Linked DNA regions of Homo sapiens: region 2 is linked to region 1. Evidence: promoter capture Hi-C in human tissues and cell types (Jung and others, 2019). All regions are on one chromosome and are shown on one strand. Each heading gives the region's core, a stretch centred on a gene start or on the middle of the fragment in contact. The rest is flanking DNA. Distances are from core to core; before and after follow the strand shown.

Region 1 (7,146 bases), core at 2,457-4,956:
CCTCTGATAGAGTCACAGCGGCGCATTACCACATCAAAGGGTGAGCTGCAGCAGTTGCCCACATGGGAGGTCAGGAGGTTGGATGCGACCCACAGGTTGGGTTGGTGCTCACCTACCAATGGGTGTTTAGCCCCATGAAAAAGGAAACTCATCTAAGACAACTTCCAAGCAGTGCAACTTCCTGCCTTGTGCCTGGTGAGTTCCCTGTCACCCAGAGTTCCACCAGAGATTGGGGTGTTGTAATGGCTTAGGAAAGAGACCCTTCAAGTCTAGTCAAATCTTACAGCCACCCCAGGGGTAAGAGGTGTTCAGCTCTCGTATCAGGAATGGCCCATGCTGCTTTGCGTACAGTGACTTTGTGCTGGCCCTCCAAGGCCCACAGACTGCTTACGTCTTCTAGCAAATCAGAATTGTGCATGTCAACACTGTTTACATACAATTTCAGGGAGTCCATAGACTCCTAACCCTGGGCTGAGAACCTGTCTTATGGAAAAGCCAATCCCATCATTGATTGCCGAGAGATTGGTGTGGACCGAGCAGAACAGTTGCAGCACTACTCTAGGGAGGGACTTGGTGGGGAATGGAGTGTTCTGAGGAGGGCTCCAGCAGTCAAGGGTGTGTGTGTGTGTGTGTGTGTGTGTCTGTGTGTGTGTAATGGGCTGTGATAGGGGTACAAGGGTTAGAACAGGAGGACTGTGGAGCTCTGAGGAAATCAGCCCGGCTCTGAGTGTTTGAGATGATCTGCCAGAGGGATGCAGAGCTGGGGAGCACAGCCAGCCTCCGCCAGGGCAGCTTTGGAGGGCAATCCCGTTCCAACCAGGCAGCTCTGGGATCACTTCCTCTGAACCACTCCAGATGGACTAGCAGCCTGGAACCTTGTTTTTTACAGTCGTCACTCCCTAGTGTGACAAAACACATGCTCTACAGTGATAAAATCTGAATATTTAAGCAAATTAAAAATGTTTATTTATATACATTTAAAAATATCTCCCTATATAATAAAAGGAAGTACAGTTCATCTGACACTTTCCTTAAATCACACACACACATCTCCATTGCACTTCTGGTTTGATATGAGACCACAACAGGGAGAGAAGGGGGAAAGGGAGAGTGAATATTTACCATTTGGATTCCTAAGCAGTCATTTTGCCATGAATCAAACCCCCTCTGGAATGGGGGAGAGGAGATGGTGGTGACAGCAATTGTCAAATGTGCTTGGTTGCCAGACTCCTGGCCAGTTGTATGATCATAAAATTGGAGCTTCAGTGGGTAGATTGATTTATGTGGATAATGTCTTTTAGAAAATCTTGGAGTTTTGGCTGGGCACAGTGGCTCATGCCTGTAATCCCAGCACTTTGGGAGGCAGAGGCAGAAAGATCCCTTGATCTCAAGAGTTCAAGATCAGCCTGGGTAATATAGCAAGACCCTGTCTCTACAAAAAAATACAAAAATTAGCCAGTCATGGTGGCACACACCTGTAGTCCCAGTTGCTTGGGAGGCTGAGGTGGGAGGGTAGCTTGAGTTCAGGAAGCGAAGGTTGTGGTGAGCCGAGATGGAGCCACTGCACATCAACCTGGGTAATAGAGCAAGATCTCTCTCAAAAAAATAAAGAAAAGAAAATCTTTGAGTTTTGTTTGTTTTATGAAAGGGCAGACTTTCCCCACCAGGGCTGTGGGGATGGAGGTGATGGTGGCAGAGAGGTATGAGCTAGAGGGCAGAGCCTGGGTGAGGTCAGACTCCTAGGTTATAGACATGATCCTGTCTTTACTGAATCACTGAGTGATTTTGCAAATCCTGCCCCTCTGGGTCTCAGTTTCCCTATCTGAAAGGCATGGGCCTAGATCCATTTGCACCTCACAGTCCCAGTGACTGCCACAGTGGCTCAGTGGTCACCCCCTGATGTGTCTGCTCAAGGGAAGCTAAAGCCCTGGTCCACTCCCTTCTTCTCCCCCAGGGCTGGGTCCGTGAAGTGGGAGGAGCAGGTGCTGCTAGGAAGGGTCATAAAGAGGCCAGTCTTCTTGGCTCCTGAGCCAACTGCCTCATCCCTGCTCGCTGTCCCTGTGGCCCTCTGTGCCTTCCAAAGGGTCTCATGAAACCCAAGTGCCAATGGGAGGGAGTGGTTGAGCAAGGTTGAGCCTCTTTTGTACAAGATGCATTGACAAGCCTTGGGTGAGGGATGGGGAAGTTTCCTGCCTGGGCCTCCTTGGATTCAGGAGCCCTTGGCTTCTGCCTTTCCCAGCCATGACCCACAGCTTTCCTGGCTTCATCCCCAACGCCCAGTGCATGACTTCACTCCTCTGGGACAGTTTCCACAGGTGTAAAATGAGATGCACAAACATGTCTTCCCAGACAGTTGGAAAGAATTAAAAATTAGATGTTGGATGCAAAAATCCTTCATAATGCACACAGTAGGGCTCCATAAATGCTCCTTCTCTTCACACTCACAGCCACTCTTGGCCCCATATGGGTCAGCAGGCAGGGGGCAGAGGAGACACCTTCCTCCTGGGTCTGGAGAGCCCCTGGTTTGCCCTTTGTGGCCAGGCTCAAAGGGGAGAGAAGTTTGACAGGACCTGGGCAGGGGAAGGGGTGGACTGGAGCCTGGCCAGGCCTTTACCCAAGTCCATGCTTTGACTTAAACCCCTCCAACCTTTTTTCAAGCTCCAGAGGTGGGAGAGAGCAGAACCTTATTCTCATCTCTCCCCAAAGGCCTCCCACCGTGTCAACTGATAGTGAGCCAAACAGATGTATGGTTAATGTCTAAACTGGGACACTTGCGAGGGTGAAAAGGACACAATTTGTAATGTATATACTGATCCGCTAGTGTCTATCAGTCAGTCCCAGCAAACCAACGTGTGCCATTGCTCCAGCTCATCATTTCCCATCCTAGCCACAGGCTCACTGGACCCTCAGAACATTCTGAGGCAACAATGCATGGGCGGCTCGTGGCCCATTTTACAGATATGAAATTAGAACTTTCCAGAAGCCATACTGCTGCTGGACAGGAAACCAGTTACTAATCATCTAAGTCACAGATCACAGTGACACTGTGGCACTTGCCTGTCCCTTCTGCTCACCCAAACCTCCCCATTTTGCTTTCATCTTAAGGAAAGGAGGAGAGTTGAAGACTCTACTAGCCTAAAGGTCCATGAAGCCTGACTCTGTCCCTGGTGTCACTCATTAGCCCCGTGACTTTGAGTAAGTAACTTAACTTCCCTGTCCCTCAGCTTCCTCATCTGTAGAATAGGAGTAACGACACCTGTCTCTCCAGGTTGAGAAAATAGGACACCTAGTTCAGGACCTGGCACATTTTAGGTGCTCAATAAATACTGATAGATTGAATAATTGGACTAATGGTGGCGTGGGCAACCCACAGTCAGTGAATAAATGTTAACTGAGCACCTACTATGTGTCAGGCTCTTTGTGCTAGATGTTTTCTATGCTCCATCTTCCTGAATTGCTCACACTCCTGTAAGAGAGGAGAGATTCTTATCCCCTAAGGTCGCACAGCAAAGACGACGCAGGGGGGTGGGCTGTTAGTGTTCCTTGCCCAACTGTGGAAAGGGAGTCCCAGAGAGGGCAGGTCGCTTGCCCAAGGTCACGCAGAAAGCCGAGGGTTTCCGTCGCGAACCCCCCTCCCCACTCGCTCAGGGCTCTCCAATCCGCAGCTCTGCGTGCGGGGGCGCGCGCATCCCCCCGCCGTCCGTCCGTCAGCTGTCTGTCTGGGTGTCTATGCGGGCGCAGCAGTGCACCCTTCCCCAGCCTCGGGCGCTGCGCAGGGACAGACAAGGCATTCGCAGCGCCCTGCCCGCGCTCCACGCCCGCAGCCGCCAGACGGCAGCGCCTGCGTCCGTGCCCGCCCCAGCCGGTGCGCGGGAGCCGCGGGGGCAAAGGCGCAGTGGCCAGCGGACCATCTCTCGTGCCCTCGCTCTCTGCGCTCCGGGGCAGCTGAGCCCCGGCCACCCGCTCTCCAAGATGAAGAAGCTCCAGGGAGCTCACCTCCGCAAGGTAGGGCACGAGGGCGGGGGCGCTGGGGGTGCACCTGGAGGAGGGTTGGAGAGACCCGCCCCCAACGAGGCCCCTGGGGAAGGTCTGAGGATGCACCCAGACCAGCTTCGGGCTCTGGGGAAGGCCCGACTCAGCTGGATAACAGGGAGGGTCAGGGTCACGGTCTGCGCCCCCACCTCTGCCCCTGCCATCTGGGGTTCGGGATGTAGTATGAGGGGAGTCCTGGTTCACTGGGCCAGGCCTATGAACAGGTGTCTGCAGTCCCCGGAGGCGCGGGGTAGGGGCGGCCGGGGCCAGGCACCCACCTCTTCCCCAATTCCACCCTGCTGCTCCCCGCCAGGAGCTGATTGCCGGGTGTGGGGGGTATTGGAATACCTGAGCGTTGAGCTGGACTCATCTGAGGGGTGGGGAGTGGGAGGCGGTCATCCATACTGAAGCCGGCTCCCTGAGCCTGCGGGAAGACTCTCCTCTTTCCTGCCTGCTCCCTCCCCGCCCCCTTAGCTTGCCTGCTGAGACCCCAGGCTGCCCCTCAGCAGGGCTGAAGGGAGGCAAAGACAGGGAGGGGGCTATCGGAGGCAGGAGGATATGATCAATGAAGATGGAAGCTGGTATGGGAGAGTGGCTGTGGGCCCAGACCTCAGGCTCTCCCTACCTTGCCTTGTGGGATTGGACCTCTCAGCCAAGCTGTCAGGATATGGGGAGGGGGAATACTGGGGGACGTTTTCTGGCTTGTACCAGTCCTAACTAAGGAGTCAGATCTCCTGAATACTATTTCTGCCGCTGCCACTTGCCTGGTGACTTTGGACAAGTTCATTCTCTAACCTGAACCTCCTCTGGCTAAGCCCTAGCCTGGAGGCACCAAAACAGGCCCCACTGGGTGTGTGAGGTGTGGGGAAGAATGCTAAAGGGCTGGTAGATGTGAGAAGACTGTTCTCAGGGGCTGGTGTTATCAACCTCCCTACATACACACACATTCACACTCACACTCACTCACACACACACTCATTCATTCAAGTTCTCTGCTCTGGGGCAGCTGGGCTTGGAACCACTGTGGTGTGTCTTTTTTCTTTTTCTTGTTTTTTTTTTTTGAGACGGAGTCTCGCTCTGTCACCCAGGTTGGAGTGCAGTGGTGTGATCTCGGCTCACTGCAAGCTCTGCCTCCCGGGTTCACGCCATTCTCCTGCCTCAGCCTCCCGAGTAGCTGGGACTATAGGCGCCCGCCACCACGCCTGGCTAATGTTTTGTATTTTTAGTAGAGACGGGGTTTCACCGTGTTAGCCAGGATGGTCTTGATCTTCTGACCTCGTGATCCGCCCGCCTCGGCCTCCCAAAGTGCTGGGATTACAGGTGTGAGTCACTGCGCCCAGCTGGTATGTCTTTTTTATTCACTGACATGAGTGACTTCTTGAGACCATTTGTGAGTCTCTTGGGTCCTGTTTCCATTCTTTTCCACTCTCCTTCTCTTCCCTCTCTGCCCTCCCTCCCCACAAGAGGCCCTGTCCCTCTTGCTGGGTGCTGGGCTGGGGGGTTAGCAAGCTTTATCTCATTTAATCCTTTAACACTTCCAGGGGCTAGGTCTTAGTAGCCCCACTTTATAAATAAGGCAACTGAGGCACAGAGGGGTGAGACTCACTGCTTACCTGCTGGCAGGCTAGGCAACCTAGAGCCAACAGGGCAGAGGGTTGGTTCTAGGTTGCTACCTCCTCTCAGGGTCCTTTCCCTTTTCTCAAGCAGAATTGGGCGGGAATGAGAAAATGCCAGATTTCCGCAAAGGAGCAGCATTGCTCAGAGATGAACACTGGACTTAGAGTCAGGGGATCTAGGTCCAAGTCTTGCTGTGCCTTTAACTTGCTGTTTGACCTTGGGCTCATCCCTTCTTCCTGAAACTTGGTTTCCTAATCTGCACAATGATGAAGCTGGACCCCAGATTCCTATTGTCTCTCTCTGTCCTGAAGAGTCTTGGCTTGGGCAGTCTTGAGTCTCCCAGCCCCTGCTGTGAGTCCCTAAAGGCGAGCATGCAGGTCTGACAAACTCAGCTGTGTGTTCCTGCATGCCCCTGGGGTAGGGAGTGGGAGATTCAGGAGTGGGAGGCTTACACCCAGGAAGAAGTATGAAGCAACTCATTCAGCTTCCAGCCCTGCCCCAGCTATTTGATTGCTTTCTTCCATCTCCCAACCAGCCCCATCCTCACTGTGCCAGCCTCCTGGGATTCACCCCATGGTGGGGTTGGGAACTCCAGTTGGGCTCCTGATTGGCTCAGCTTTGGAGGACCCTATCTCCTGCCCCTGGAGCAGAAGCAGGCTTCCCTCTGATTGGGGGAGGAGGGGGACGAGCTGGCAGCATCCTGCTCTTGGAACTCTAGTCACCATGGAAACAGAGAACCGGGACCGCTCCATGAGCATGGAAAGGGCAGCTTCTCTGGAGGGATCAGAGGATCCTCATTACTGGGACCTCCTGCTAACTGGCCTGAATGGTGCTGGGATGGGCGGGGGGTGTCTCAGGGTAACAGGCCTGCTCACCACCCAACACCAGGAACAGTGGCAACCATTCCTCCCGGAGCTCACCTGGGGTGAGAGGTTGCTGAAGGCTGATGCTCACCCAGCTGGAGAGGCAGCCTCAGGGAACGGGGCATTGGAGGGGAAGGGTGGGTTTCACTTAAGTCTGGGATCTGCTGCTCCTGTCACCTCAGCATGTCCATGATCACAGCTAAAGAACTTCCAGGCATGTATTTGTTTCACCCCTTGCAGCCTAGTTACTTTAAAAACAGCTCTTCATGCTCTGTCATTGTCATCGTCACCCATAATAATGTCTGGCTGTTCCTGTCACCACGGCCCCTGTGGCCAATAGCCAGTTTCTGGCAAAATCACCACTGTGGTCACCATCACTGAGGGTCTCCTAAGGGAGAATGCCCCATGGACCTCTCACCCACTTTGAAGCATGAAAGGAGACCTTAGGAACAGCTGGCCTCCGCTCCCCTCTGGGCATGCATCTCCTCTCCAGGGACAGCAAGATTATGACTTTCTGACACAGATCACGGCTTAAGTACCTTCTTCCTGCTCATGAGCCAAAATTCACAAAATTCACCCAGCCCTCAGGCTCTCCCTACCTTGCCTGGTGGGGTTTGACCCCCCCAGCCAAGCT
Region 2 (7,146 bases), core at 1,713-4,212, 48 kb before region 1:
CCCCCTCCAGCCTCTGCTCCCCACCATTCCTCTGCCCCAGCCCCTCCAGCTGGATGCCAGGCCTCCTTGGTCAGGAGGGAGCAGCGCCAAGGCGGAGCCAGCAGCCCCCACAGAGGCCCATCTGCCCCTCCGTCGGTGCCCCTCTGGCTGCCCCCTTCCTGCTAGAGATCTCAGCCAAAGAAAATCATTAGCAGAGGCTGGGGGAGGGGGTCACTTCAGCTTCCCTGCCCCTCCTCTCCCAGTCTCCCTGGCTGGCCACACTGTTTATTATTCTAAAGGAGGAATTTGGCCGGCTGGCCAGGAGAAGGGAGGTCACTGCAGCGGGGCTGGCCTGGCTCTGGAAGGCTGGGCTGGCTATGTGGGCTGGGCCTTCATGGCATGCAGCCCCCGACCCTCCTCCCATGTGGCACTCCATCCTCTCCCCTTCAGGCTCTCTTCTGCTGGGCCTGGGGCTGGGGGTGGCTTAGAGACTCTGAGCTAGGAGGTATGCTTTTTGAATGGGCAGCAGAGGCCCAGAGAAGGACAGAAGCATGCCCCAGTCACACAGCAAAAAGGCAGATTCAAGCTGTGGGGAGAGGACAGGCAGGCAGTGTGGATGCCGTAGGGAGGTTGTAGGCACCCCAGGGATCTCGGACTGGCTTTACTATGAATAGAGCAATCAGCTCCCCTCATAAGCACCCTGGGACCCACTGTGAGACTGAGCGAGTCTCCAGCCTCTCTGAACTCTGCGTCCCCATCCATATAGAGAGGTTGGCAGGTGTCATCTCAAAGAGCTGTCCCTATGGTGAAGCTCTGCCTTTCTGACAGGCCAAAGAGAAGATTCTAGTCACCACGAATCTTACCGGGGTGTTTTGAGGAGGTGGGGGCTAGTAAGCAGGAGGGGGCTACATTCCTGAGGCTAGAGTCACATAAGAATCCACCAGCCATCTCATTCCACGAAAGGAATTTCCATGACTATTCAGCCACAGACTTGCTGTGCGGGCTTTGACAAGTTGTTTCCCTCTCTGGGCCTCAGTTTCCCCATCTATACAATTAAGAGTTAGACCAAGGCTGGGCATGGTGGCTCATGCCTGTAATCCCAGCACTTTGGGAGGCCGAGCCAGGCGGATCACGAGGTTGAGAGATCGAGACCAACCTAGCCAACATGGTGAAACCCCGTCTCTACTAAAAATACAAAAATTAGCTGGACATGGTGGCAAGTGCCTGTAGTCCCAGCTACTCAGGAGGCCGAGGCAGGAGAATCGCTTGAACCCAGGAGGCGGAGGTTGCAGTGAGCTGAGATCACGCCACTACACTCCAGCCTGGTGACAGAGTGAGACTCTGTCTCAAAAAAAAAAAAAAAAGTTAGACAACAGTGTTTCAACAGTGTTTCAGGGGACTTTCCGCTGGTGACGTGGAACCCCAGGAGGTGGCAAGGAAAGAGTGGTAGGGACAAGAGGCTGGAGGGCCAGGGAGGGCAGAGAAGGGCTTAGGGCACCCAGACATGACTTCCCAGGCCATCCTGGATGACTCCCTGATACCCCACATTTTCCACCAAATGTGTTAGGCCTCTTTGTGCTTCCCAGAGGCTGTTCTGGTTCCAGCCAATCCCAGGGAGGCCCAGGCAGCTGACTTGGTGGTAGTGGGCTTGCCTGTGACAACTTCCCCTCTTTAGGAGGACTGTACTCTAGGGAAGGGCCACCTAGGACAAGCTGGATGTCACAGTCAGAGAGCAGGCACTCCCCCTATCTGCTGTACTCTCCTGCCCAGGGAGGCCTCTAGAGCAGAGAGAGGGAGGGCACCCCTAGGTGTCCCCCTTTTGCCCATGAAGAGAGTGCTATGTGCCAGGAACCCCTCCTGATTCCTCCTATTCTGGCCAGGTTGTAGGCTCAGAGGCCCAAAGTGGAGATCATGCCCAGCTCCTCACGTGACTCAGAGGGACCCCTTAGGGGAGCAGAGTGAGGACCCCAAGTCCGGGGCACAGAGTGGAACCCCAAGTTCAGGGGAGAGGAGTGGGGGGCCCCAAGTCTAGGGGAGCGGAGTAAGGACCCCAAGTCCAGGGGAGCAGACTGGGAACTCCAAGTCAAAAGGAAGCAGAGTGGGGACCCCAAGTCAAAGGAGCAGAGTAAGGACCCCAAGTCCAGGGGAGAGGAGTGGGTGCCCCAAGTCCAGGAGAGCAAGCATGCTTGGGGAGTCATTCTCAGAGCCCCAGACTTCCCTCCTCCCAGCACGTACAATTCTCCACTCCTTTCCCACCGCCTTAATCTAAATAAATCCAGCCCATCTTGGCCACATCCGCCAGCAACAGCTTCCCTCCCTCAGGGTCCTGAGGCTCCCACGACACAGGCAGGCCAGGGAGGGGGCCCTGCATTGCTGCGGGGGTTGATGGGGGGAGCCTGCACATGGTCAGCACATACACACAGCACAGATGCACAGATGCCTGCCTACGCACTTCCTCGCACACTCCTCTGAAACACATACGTATGCAAGAGGCCATGTGGGTGCCAAGCCCTCATGCAGGTACTAAACATGTACACACCCACACAAAACACATGTGCGCAGCTCCCACTGTGCCCAGCACCCGTGGAGATGCACCCGTGTGCAACAGTTCACATGTGTATGCAGCACATACAACATGCACAGAACATGTGCACATAGAACCCCAAATTCACCTGAACACACAGCCATATGCATGAACAGACAAGCCAGAAAGCCCGTGTTACTGCACCAGGAACCATTCTGAGCATTTGGCACGTATTGGCTCACTTGATTCTCCATCAACTCTATGAGGTAGATACAGTGATCATTTCCATTTTACAGTGGGGAAACTGAGGCAGAGAGCATTTAATAACTGGGCTAGGAACACAGAGCCAGAAGGGGTAGAGCAGAGATTAAAGTGAAGTGGTGTGACTCTGTGTTCTATGCCACCAGCTCCACCGCTTCTCTGACCAACGTGCATGTTTGGTTGGGTCTGGGGAGAAGGCAGTGGGGACTGAAAAAAACAGATGGATTTGAGAGTTACTTAGCTGAGAATCAACAGGACTGGGTGACTTAATATTGAGGGGCTGGAGAGGGAGGTATGCACCTCTGTATCTGGCTTGGAATACTGGGAGGCAGAAGTGTATGTGTGTGTGTGTGTACACGCGCACGTGCTGAGGGGACGATGCCATTTTCTGAGATGAGAATGAGGTCAAAGAGCAGGAGTGAGAGCTGCAACTGAGCAGGTTTAGGATAGGGAGGGTCTGTGGGCACTGAGGGGACAGTGGGATGTTCAGTCTGGAGGCCAGGAACAGGCCGGGTAGAAACAGCAGTGAGATGAGAGAGAGAGGGCCATGCTGCAGGGAGAGGGGGGTGCTGGGGGCAGGCAGTCTCAGGCCTGGGATGCTCTGAATAAACCAAATGCCTGAGGGAGGAGGAGGCCTGGCCATGGGGTTATGGGGTCAGAGTCTTGGAATGTCAGCACGCCAGAGCCCTCAGGGATCATCTATCTGATCTAACTGCCTTCCTGTGCTCCATTGTGCTCGTGGGGAAACTGAGGCTTAGGGAAGGAAAGCAAGAGGGCCCATTGTTTTGGCCTAGACAAGATGGGCTCGGGTGATCGGTGGGGCTGAAGCTCACCTGGCTGCGCAGCTCCCCGCCTCCAGCCCCTGCTAAGATGTGAGGCTGGTGGCTCAAGGCCCCAGGCTTCAGGCTATAGCTGCCCCTGCCCTCTCCACAGCACACCTCTGTCCTGCCACACATTGACCTTTGTTTCAAAGTCACATTCTCTGCACGAGCCCAGCCAGGCAGGGATTGGCGACTGAGACTCAGAGGAGGTAATTTGCTAAGTTGTTGGGAGAAGTGAGCCACAGACTCCAGTCTCCTGACCCAGTCCAGTCTTCTGTTCTCCGTACCGGGGCACTTTACAGGCCTGGGACAGACTTTGGAGGGGGGTTGGGGTGGGAAGTAAGAAGACCTGGCTCTAGTCCCGGCTGTGACACCCACTTATAGGATAGTGGTCCCCCCTATCTGCAGGGAATACATTCCAAGGCCCCAGTAGATGCCTGAAACTTTGGATAAAACCAAACCCCATACATACTATGTTCTTTTCCCTGCAAATACATACCTATTATAAAGTTTTATTTATAAATAAGGCACAGTAAGAGATGAACAACAATAATAATAAAATAGAACAATGATAAAAATATACTGTAATAAAAGTCATGTGACTGTGTTCTCTCTCTTAAAATATCTTACTGTATCGTTCACTCTTCTTGTGAAGACGTGGAATGACACGGTGCCTACGTGATAAGAGGAAGTGAGGTGATGGCGTAAGAATTGTGAAGTAGCGTTAGGCTACTACTGACCTCCAGACATTATCAGAAGGATCAGGTCATCTGCTCCAAGTGATCCTGGACCACCGAGCCATGATGGTGTTGATGGCTGGATGTCAGTAGTGGACTTTGTTGATGACTAACAGGTGGGTAGCGTATATGGACAAAGGGATGATTCACTCCTGGGCGGGACAGACAGGACAGTGCAAGATTTCATCACACTACTCAGAACAGCACAAAATTTAAAGCTTGTAAGTTGTTTATTTCTGGAATTTTCCATTTAATGTTTTTGGACCACAGTTGATCTGGGGTAACTGAAACTTCAGAAAGTGAAACTGCAGCTAAGGGTGACTACTGTACAGTCCTGACCCTCTCTGAGCCTCAGTTTCCTTATCTGTGCAAAAGGGTGGGCAAGAGTGTCTTGGGAGCACTTTCAGGGCTGACATGCTGTGGCCCTCAGGGCTCCACTCTGGGAAGGCAGCTGTGCTGAGCTGGAATGCTGGGCTCGGGGTGGGGGTGCTGGGGAGGGACCCATGTCATGACTCAGCTCAGAGAAGGCTGCCAGTTCCAGGCCTGGGAGTCTGTGGGGGCAAGAGGCATCTGGAGCCAGGGATGAAGTCCTCCCGCCAGCAGCTAAAGAGTAGGAAAGGGATAGCAGCACAGCCTGGGCCTGGCGGCAAGTCTGGTCCATGTGGCTGTCCCCAAGCAGGCTGAGATGTGGGTGTGATTGGGTCATGTGATCAGGGAGCCCCATCCTGGGAGCCAGAGAAGAGAGCAGGATCGGAGGGTGAGGAGACAGTTACAGGTGGAGGGGAGAAACTGGGGAAGTGGCCGAGGCTCCCACCCGCCCCCTTCAATCCTATGCTCGCTCCACTTCCAGTTGTTGGAGAAGGCTCAGTGCTCCACCCCTGCACCACGAACCTCCCCACCAGCCTCGGGATCACTCTAAGGGCTACAGAAAGAGAGCAGCCCGGCGCAGCCCACTCGGTGTTGGAGCCATTCTCTGTGCCACGCTGCTTCTAGGCCCGGGGTCCTCTTTATGTTTCTCCAGGTACCTACAAAGTCCCCTGAACAAAGCAGCAGAAATCGACTAAGATGGGGCCTGGCGTGTGCTCCCGCTGCTCTGGAAGTCCAAACTGGATGGAAGAATAGCGCTGGTTCCCTGGAAGGCTGCTAAGCCCCCTGCACCCCCTCCTCCAGCACAGGCTCGGCTGCCTCTGGCTATCCCACCGCCAATCTCCTCACCTCCAATCTGTCCCCTCCACCTGTTCTCACACCCCAGCCAGAGGGACCTTTCTGAAATACCTATGTGACCTCTCCGGCCCTCCTCTGCTCTCCATCCCCCTCAGGCAAAGGCTGGCTTCTCTGCCCAGCCTTTCAGAATCTTCCGGCCCGGCCCTGACAGCTCCCTCACAACTGAGGGAGGAAGGCGGCTGCCCCTCCAGCTCCCCAGGGCCCAAGCCAGGCCCTCACACTCGTCACTCACTGCATGCTCCTCTCCCCATGAGGCCTCCCCAGGGAACACAATGGAAAGAAATGACCTATTTTCTGGAAGTCCAAAATAAGATGAAACATCTGTCTGGAATGGGGCCAGGCTGATAAAGAACGGGCTGATCTCCCCAGCCCGAGCCCCGCTCTCCTGCAGCAAACACCCCCTCACCCGTCAGAGTGCCTGTGCTTGGGGGTGGGGGCAGCGATGCGGCTGGCTACTTGGAACAGTGCGTGGGAAAGCGCTCAGTGTGTGCCTCACGGCTGCTGGGGGCCCAAGGGAGGGGGCCTGGGTCCCCAGGAAGGCTGGGAAGCAGCCTGAGAAGGAGGTCAGTGAGGGAGGGAGGCCTGCTGCACACCCCTGCCCACCGGCTGCAGAGCAAGCACTTCCTGCCTCCTGCGGTGCCTTGAGGGTTACCCCCAGGGCCCTGTGGATTCCTGGCCCTGAGTCCCCCCACCCACCCCGGCCCCATCTGGGCCTCCAACAGCCTTAAAAATAACAATAATAATAATAGCTACCTCTGATTTAGTACAGTTGACCCTTGAACTACACAGGTTTGAACTGTGCAGGTCCACTAACACGTGAATGTTCCACACATGTGAAACATCCACCTCCTTCCCACCCTTCCACTCCTCCACCTCTTCCGCCTCTGCCACCCCTGAAAGCAAGGCCAACCCTTCCTCTTCCTCCTCCTTCCCAGTCTACTTAACGTGCAGACAAGGGTGAAGACTTTTTCAGTGATCTACTTCCACTTAATATAAACTGAATGTATTTTCTCTTCCTTGTGATTTTCTTTCATCTAGCTTACTTTATTGTAAGAACATAGTATATAATATACATAACAGACAAAATATGTGTTAATTGACTTTACATTATCAGTAAGGCCCACAGTAGGCTGGCTATTAGCAGTTAAGTTTTTGGGGAGTCAAAAGCTATACATGAATTTTCAACTTTGCAGTTGGTGGCTGTCCCCAGCCCCCTCATTGTTCAAGGGTCTGCTGTACTTATCACCCACTATCTATGCTAAGCTCCTTATATGAATGATCTCACCAAGTCCTCAGAACAATCCCATGACATCAGTACTGCTTCCTCATTTTACAGATGTGGAAACTGAGGCACAGACTGTTTACATTGTTTGCCCAAAAGCTTGCCAGTGGTGTCTCCAGTGTTTAATACTGGGCAGACAGGCTCCAGAGCACACAGCCCAATGCCCATGAGACAGCCCCTCTGTGGCAGGAGGCAAAGATAAGGAGCCCCGCAAAAAGGACAGCCCAGTACCTGGCACAGAACAAGCTCAAATAAAAAAAAATAAAAGTTAATTAGCCAGGCGTGGTGGAGGGAGCCTGTAATCCCAGCTTCTCGGGA

What was found. The method cuts DNA at HindIII sites, captures the fragments that hold promoters and counts their contacts. A contact is called where the count stands out against the background at its distance.
Region 2: a fragment that was not itself captured here is called in contact with the fragment with the promoter of SLC6A7 in region 1 in 1 of the 25 tissues and cell types used here (mesenchymal stem cells).

What each region holds. Positions count from the first base shown.
Region 1 is chr5:150,186,356-150,193,501 of GRCh38, forward strand. SLC6A7 (solute carrier family 6 member 7) reads left to right here and starts at 3,707. Exons shown (of 14, transcript NM_014228.5): 1 at 3,707-4,005. The coding sequence starts at 3,973. RefSeq lists an enhancer at 1-475. The HindIII fragment of the contact is 16,922 bases long and covers 1-7,146 here.
Region 2 is chr5:150,138,652-150,145,797 of GRCh38, forward strand. The region is part of intron 1 of PDGFRB (platelet derived growth factor receptor beta); the gene reads right to left. Among named protein-coding and RNA genes, the nearest start is that of PDGFRB, 14 kb to the right of the region's middle. The HindIII fragment of the contact is 5,542 bases long and covers 192-5,733 here.